Linked DNA regions of Homo sapiens: region 1 is linked to region 2. The links are contacts of gene promoters, found by promoter capture Hi-C in blood cells and fetal thymus (Javierre and others, 2016). All regions are on one chromosome and are shown on one strand. The core of a region is centred on a gene start or on the middle of the fragment in contact, and the rest is flanking DNA. Distances in the headings are between cores, read along the strand shown.

What was found. Contacts are between HindIII fragments. The CHiCAGO score rates a contact against its expected background, and 5 or more counts as called.
Region 1: a fragment that was not itself captured here is called in contact with the fragment with the promoter of PLEKHH2 in region 2 in 6 of 17 cell types (total CD8 T cells, activated CD4 T cells, naive CD8 T cells and 3 more); the score reaches 9.6 in total CD8 T cells.

What each region holds. Positions count from the first base shown.
Region 1 is chr2:42,940,075-42,944,025 of GRCh38, forward strand. LOC112268413 (a long non-coding RNA gene) reads left to right here and starts at 959. Exons shown (of 3, transcript XR_002959381.2): 1 at 959-996. The HindIII fragment of the contact is 1,406 bases long and covers 576-1,981 here.
Region 2 is chr2:43,634,998-43,638,747 of GRCh38, forward strand. PLEKHH2 (pleckstrin homology, MyTH4 and FERM domain containing H2) reads left to right here and starts at 2,263. Exons shown (of 30, transcript NM_172069.4): 1 at 2,263-2,382. RefSeq lists a silencer at 2,167-2,496. The HindIII fragment of the contact is 11,276 bases long and covers 1-3,750 here.

The sequences.
Region 1 (3,951 bases), core at 29-2,528, 700 kb before region 2:
CCAGGCTGGCGGAGTTCAAATCCTAGTCCTGCCACCTATGAGTTGTGTGACTTTGGACAAGTACCTAACCCTTTTGTGCCAGTTTCCTTTGCAGTAAAATGGGAATAAAAAGAAAATCTACGTAACAGTAGATATTCTGTGAGGATTACGTGAATTCATATTTGAAGAGTGAGTAGAAGGGTTCCTGGCACAAGCTCTACAAGTGTGGCTGGAATGAATATGATGATGAGGATGAAGATGAGGATGGCGGGGCTGGAGCTCAAGTGCCATACTGTGTCCTGGAGCAGAAGCCACGTGTTGAGGACAGTCTGGACCCTTAACGAGGGTTGAGCCACGACACCAGCCTGTGACTGTTTACCTCTTGAGTTTGTTTACAGGAGAAGAAAATAAACTCTCACCTTGTTTAACACACCATCCTGTTGGCTTTTCAGTTTGCTTGTAGCCCGATCTAATCCTAACTGATACAGGAACATTGTAGGTTCAACTCACATCCCTGTCCCCTGCACCATGTTGTCGCTCTTTAAGATAATGTCTCACTGTTCCTACTTGGGTTGTACATTCCTTGAGGACGGAAAAGCTTCCCACTCACAGTAGGTGCCCAGAAAGTAAGTATCGAATTAATGGAAGAACAATGTGAAAATCATTCTGGTTAGGTAGACAAGGAATTCTTTGGCTAGTTGCAGAAAATCAGTGATAGTAATAACAAAATTTATCAAGCATAATGGCTGGCGTGCTTTTTTTTTTTTTTTTTCCAAGTCAGAGTCTTGCTCTGTTGCCCAAGCTGGAGGGCAGTGATGTGATCACATCTCACTGCACCCTTGACCTCCTGCCTCAAATGATCCCTCCATCTCAGCCTCCTGTGCACCAGCACACCCAGCTAATTTTTAAATTTTTTTTTTGTAGGGATGAGGTCTTACTATATTGCCCAGTCTGGTCTTGAACTTCTGGACTCAATTGATCCTCCTGCCTCAGCCTTCCAAAGTGTTGGGATGACAGGTATGAGCCACTATGCCCAGTCCCTGGCATTCCAAGTACTTCAAGTGTATTTTATAGTTCAGCTCTCATGACAATCCTATGAAATAAATACAGTTGGCCCTCTACACCTGTGGGCTCTGCATCGATGGATTCAACCAACCATGGATTGATAATACCCTATTTGAGAAAAAAAAAAGATAGTCCCATCTGTGATGAACATGAACAGACTTTTTTTTCCTTGTCATCCCCTAAACAATACAGTATAACAGCTATGTATATAGCATTTACATTGCAGGAAGTATAAGTGATCTAGAGATGATTTAAAATATAGGGAGGATGTGTGTAGGTTATATGCAAATACTACACCATTTTATATCAGGGACTTGAGTACCGTCACATTTTGGTATCCTTGGGGGAGTGAGGGTCCTAGAACCAATCCCCCACGGACACCAAAGAATGACTGTACTCTCATCAGTTCCATTTTACAAATAAGGGAACTGGGCTTCAGAGAGATGGAGGTCAAGGTCATAGATGCAGCCAGTGGAGCCTGGCTTCAGAGCCCAGCACCTTCACAATTTTGCTGTGAAACCTTCTCAAGGGCTTTTCTCTGATGGGAGCTTTGGAAAGGAGAGGCTGTACAAGTCAACAAGAACACAGCGCGTCAGAGTGACCTTGCTTCTCTCTTGATTTTGGAGATTTGTTTGGAGGGCTGAACTTCAGGGAAACAAAGTGAAATGTCAGGGTTTTCCTGAGGTCAATGGGGGTAAAGACCCAAATGGATTATGAAGCCTTCCCTGACCCCCTAGTCCACACTGACCTCCCCTGTCTTCTCTGTACTTGCATAGCCTGTCTGTTGACATGGCTAGCAGCTGGCCATACTGGCTAATCTCCGGCAAAAATTGTGACATTGGCAGAGTTTGTCTTCATTCCTCTCCTATCTGCCTGTTATTTGATTTTCAGCCTCTTATGTCCTGTTTGGGCCCTCACATGTTCTCTCAGCAAGGAAAGCTTCATTCTGAAAGATGAAAATAGAGAACACAAAACTTAATTCCCCAAAATGAATATTTAATGGTGGGATTTTAAGCAGCAGAGATTTGGGAGTTGAGGAACTTGCTGTCTCTCTAATCATCTCGTTCTTCCCCTTCCCCTCTCCCTCCCCTTCCTCTTCCTCCTCCTGGTGTCTTTTTATGATTATTATTTAACCACTTCACACTCCCCACTTCACACTCCCATCTATTAGTCTGGATGGCCCACTTCCAGTCCTACATGGTCCCACTCGCATGGGTCACCCTGGTCACCCTGGGCTCAGGACCCCCCTGGCACTTACACTCCAGGCTGCACAGCCCCCTGCCTCCACAACCCCCTGCCTCCATGTGCACACTGCCAGTCCCCGGAACACTGCTTATGTCTTTGGTTTTGTTAAACTGTTTGTTCTGAGAGGACAAAGACCACATCTAATGACCAGGGATGTGGTTGCAGGAATTTTTACTTCAAAAGGCATGTTGGTCTCCATGGCCTCTCAAAGCTCCTACACCCTGAGCCTTAAAGCTTCTCAGCTCTTCCCCTCGTTCTCCCCATTGTGCCTGCTTCTGGATTGGGTAGAAGAGAGGTGCTTAGGAAGGATGTATTGAGCTGCTGTCTAACTCTTTCTGTAAGCAAGGGCACAGGCCCCTGAGACAATGGTGGAAAAGCTCTCCTGTTTTCAAAAGTCCCTCAACGTGCAGGCCCCTTGGAGGCAAAGCACCTTCAGGATTTTAGAATCAGAGTTTTTTCTGGGCCGCAGGACAACCTGCTCTGGCACTCGCTCTGGCCTGGCCATCTCTGGGCTCCTCTTGGTCAGTATCTGGGCAGCCTTTTAGAGGGCCTGGAAACCACAGCTAGCCCTTCCCAGAATGACTCGACATCCAACGTGGACTCAATTCCAGTCCCCCTTGGCTCCAGGAGGCCCGTCCCACAGGACAAGGCCAGGGCCACAGAGGTCCCAGATTTTCTCAGATTCACTGCTGACCAGGGGCAGCCATGCCAGAAATTCTGCAAAATGCCAAGCACAAGCACTCTCAAGCGGTGGCTTCATAGTTCCCACAACCTCATCTACCATACTCCATAATGTCTAGGTGGAGTGAGTTCATCTCAGACGGGAACACATTTTTCCTCCTGTGACTTCTCCCCTGACTCAAGTCTACAACCACCAGGAAACTGCTTGGGACAAGGCTGGGGCAAGGAGGCAGGGCCCGTGGAGTTGGGACCAGGGCAGAGCACCCTGCCCCGTGGAGCCTAGATCCTTGGCCCCAGCACCCCTAGAAAACATGGCTCCTCGGGCGCGGTGGCTCATGCCTGTGGTCCCATCACTTTGGGATGCCAAGGCGGGTGGATGACCTGAGGTCGGGAGTTCGAGACCAGCCTGACCAACGTGGAGAAACCCCGTCTCTACTAAAAATACAAAATTAGCTGGGCATTGTGGTGCATGCCTGTAATCCCAGCTACTCAGGAGGCTGAGGCAGGAGAATAGCTTGAACCTGGGAGGCGGAGGTTATGGTGAGCCGAGATCACGCCATTGCACTGCAGCCTGGGCAACAAGACTGAAACTCCATCTCGAAAAAATAAAAGTTAAAATAAATAAAAATAAAAATTTTTGAAAACCTGGCTCCTCAAGGAGCCACATTCTAGACAGAGCTGGAGAAGTTGATGGGGCTTGGGTTTAAGTTTGCATTGTGACCTAGGCACCCTAGGAGATGGCACCCATGTGCCCAGAGCTCAGACAGGACTTTTCTGTCTGCCTCCCTCACCCAACACTTTGCAGCATTGGGTAGACTGAATAGAGTTGTGACTGTAGACACAGGAGACTCAATAACCATTTCTTCACATCTGCTTGAGACCATCTGGCCTTTGCATCTTGCCAGGCATGAGTTATTCCTCTCTTAACCCATGGAATCCATTGCCTGGCACGGCTTCCACGCCCTTGCACCATCCACATCC
Region 2 (3,750 bases), core at 1,013-3,512:
TTGTTTGCCAAAGCTGTTTGAAGACAATTTTTCATATGATATGCATCATCAGCTCCCACAGAAGGCAAAAGGAATTTGATGTGTGGGGGTAGTCTGGGATCCTGTTCAAAATTAATGCTCATCTGGAAGAAATATGAAAGCCTGATACTTGCTTACTGGACTTTTAGTTGTATTCACTTATTGCTTTTCCTCTGAGAAACTTTGAAAATCTTTATCTCTTTTGTGGTTTTTTCTTTCCTTTTTTTTGAGACAGAGTCTTGCTCTGTCACCCAATCTGGAGTGCAGTGGTGCGATCTCAGCTCACTGCAACTGCTGCCTTCCTGGCTCAAGCGATTCTCCTGTCTCAGCCTCCTGAATAGCTGGGATTACAGGCGTATGCCACCATGTTCAGCTAATTTTTGTATTTTTAGTAGAGATGGGGTTTCGATATGTTGGCCAGGATGGTCTCAAACTCCTGACCTCAAGTCATCTGCCCGCCTTGGTCTCCCAAAATGCTGGGATTACAGGCATGAGCCACTGTGCCCATCCTCTGTGTGTGTGTGTGTGTGTGTGTGTGTGTGTGTGTGTGTGTGTGTGTGTTTTATATAAGATGAGATAAAGTTAAAAAAAAAAAGATTGTAGTAGAAAAAGTTTTTCTGATACTCTCTATTGGCCAACTGTGAACCAAAGAGAATAATCTGTCTGACCTAGCTTTGTGACCTGGGGAACGATTATCCATAACATTCAGAATTCTCTTTATTTTACCCTGAGATTGACCTCTCCAGACCCTAAGTTGGGATGTAAAATTCACCTGGATTTAAATTATCACTAATTTACTTATGCAATATGCTCTGTGCTGAGGAGAATGCAAAAAAAAAAAAAAAACCACAAATCCTTGTTTTCAAAGTGCTCACAGTCTAAAAGAGATGTGAGGAGCTGTGCATAAGGCAGAGGGAGCTAAGCCCCAAGAGAGGCAAAAATCTAGATGTTCAGGGAGCAGAAACCAGAGAAGACCTTTTTTTTTTTTTTTGTCTCAGATGGAGTCTTGCTCTGTAGGCAGGCTAGAGTGCAGTGGTGCTATCTTGGCTCACTGCAACCTCCGCTTCCCAGGTTCAAGCGATTCTCCTGCCTCAGCCTCCCGAGTAGCTGGGACTACAGTCGTGCACCACCACGCCCAGCTAATTTTTGTATTTTTAGTACAGACCAGGTTTCACCATGTTGGCCAGGATGGTCTCGATCTCTTGACCTCGTGATCTGCCCTCCTCGGCCTCCCAAAGTGCTGGAATTACAGGCATGAGCCACTGCGCCCGGCCCAGAGACGACATTTCTGCCAGGTGGAGCGACAGACATAGTTACATGGAGAAGATGATGATGATGATGATGATGATAATGATGATGATTTGAGACAGGATCTCGCCCAGTCGCCCAGGATCCAGTGCAGTGGCATGATCGCGGCTCACTGCAGCCTCCATCTCCTGTGTTTAAGCAATCCTCCAGCCTTAGCCTCCTGAGTAGCTGGGACTACAAGTGAGCGCCACCAAGCCCAGCTAATTTTTTTTTTTTGTGTGTATATATATATATATATATATATATTTTTTTTTTTTTTTTGGTAGAGACAGGGTTTCACCATGTTGCCCAGGCTCGTCTCGAACTCCTGGCCTCAAGTGATCCACCTGCCTCGGTCCCCCAAAGTACTGGGATTACAGGCGTGAGCCACTGCGCCCGGTGAGAAGATTATTCTGAGCTTTTTGAAGTGGAGACAGGAAATAGCATGTAAACGCTCCTAGTGCCACTTCCTTCGGGTGGCGAGGTGCACAGCAGTAGTCTCAGGTGTGTGAAGGGCAGCTGTGAGAAATAAACCTGAAAAGACGGGATGGAGACCTTGAACACTAGACTAGGGAATCTGTTCTTGATAATTTAAGCAAACGGAAGCCAATGAAAGTCTTTGGCACACTGTTCATCAAAACTGCTCTTAAGGAAATTAACCTGGCAGGAAGATGAAGGGTGGATTGGCAAGAGGAGAGACTTCAGACTGGGAGACCAAGGGAGGGTGCTGCAACAGTCCAGGCAGACGGAGTGGAATGAAGGTGACCGGCCGCTGCAGCAAGCTCTGGAGTCTCGCAGTTGGGACGTTAGGGGTACCACTCCAGGACAGAGCTCCCTCCTGGGGCAGGGACTGGGAGGAGCCAAAGTTATAGCCACACCCCCGGTGACGCCCGGTGGTCGGCTGTGGTCTCCCATTGGCTACACCGGCTGCCAGTCCCTGGAGGAGGCGGTGCCCTTCCCCGCCCTCTCCGAGCTCGGCTTGAGGCGGGCGCGGGCTGAGAGTCCGGGGATCCCGGGGGCCAGTCGCGGCCGGGACATCGGGCGCTGCGGCCGGGGACCCGCTGCTGAGATAGACAGGTGAGAAAGCCCGGGGACGAGGGGCCACTCCAGAGTTCCTGCCACCCTGGGATCCCCGCCCCCTTGAGGGCGCCCCGTCCAGGGGGGCTCGCGGGGCCGAGGTTTGGGGCGCCGGGAGGAGCGGGAAGGCGGGGACGAGAGGGACGGAGCGGGCTGACTCGGGATCCGCCGCTGCACCTCCCGCCACAGCCCAGAGTCGGCCCCCAAGTCTGGATGTCGCCGGGAGAGGTGGGCAGGGGGCGGTGGCCGGCGGTCCCTCGCGCCCGTGGGCTCCCGTGACGTTCTGTTTGGAAACACTGGGCCCGGGCTTCTGGCGCGGCGCGAGCGGTCCCGGGGGCGCAGCGGGGCAGCCCAGGGTCCCCGAGCCGAGGGACCCGCGCGGTCAGGGATGCCGCGCTCGCCTTAGGCTTCGGGAGATCCACCAGGATCTCCGGGGCGAAACTTTAAACTCAAAACTTTAAAGAAGCATTTTGTACACCTCGAGTTGCTGGCACGTCAAAGCACCCTAAGGTGACCTACCCGGAAACCACTGTCCCCGAAGTTAGTGGGGCACTTTTTAAAGGACAACACTTTTTACCCGTCGATATTGTTGTGCGTAACGCTGTGGAAATAGAAGTCGAACCACTTACATTGGAAAAGCTCTGGTGGTGGGCTACCTGAGGGTCACTGCTTTCTTTGTGAAAATGCCAGTCTTGGAAGCCTGGCCCGCACAGCGGTGTGTCCCAGAGGAGTATGTAGTGAGGAGCTCGGCTGTTCTGGGCAGGGTCACCGAAGGGCAGGCGTTGCCCAAGTGGGGCTAGGTGGCTAGGTGGTGGTCAGAAGGTTCCTTAAACAAGGCATGCCTCAGTCTCGTCGAGAAAGATCTTTTAACACACACACACACACACACACACACACACACACACACACTCACACACACGATTACCCAGCCCAGTTAAGCTGTCCCTTAAGAGGCAAAAACTAAAGAATATCATAGAGACTAACGCTGCGCTTCATCAGGGTAAGCCTAAGTAGAATAATTCTTTCATTTCTTTTTCTTTCCTTTTTGGGATTTGGAAGAGAAACAGGAAGTCAGAGATTCAGAGAAAAGAGCATTCACTCCACAATTGTAAACAGTTTATCTTATGTCAGTAAATACTTCCAAAAATCACTGGGGGTATTTGGAACTCCAAGACTTTTTCCTGTCCCCTGAAGTGAAGATAGATTATTTTCAAATGCAGAATCTAGACATGATAGATTCCTTTCAAATTCAGAATCTATATGTGGTATTTTCTTTATTTAGCAGTCGGCTATGTTATATAGTTATATATATATTCCCAATGTTATATAGTTCTATAACATTAGTGGTAATGAAAAGGATGGCGGATA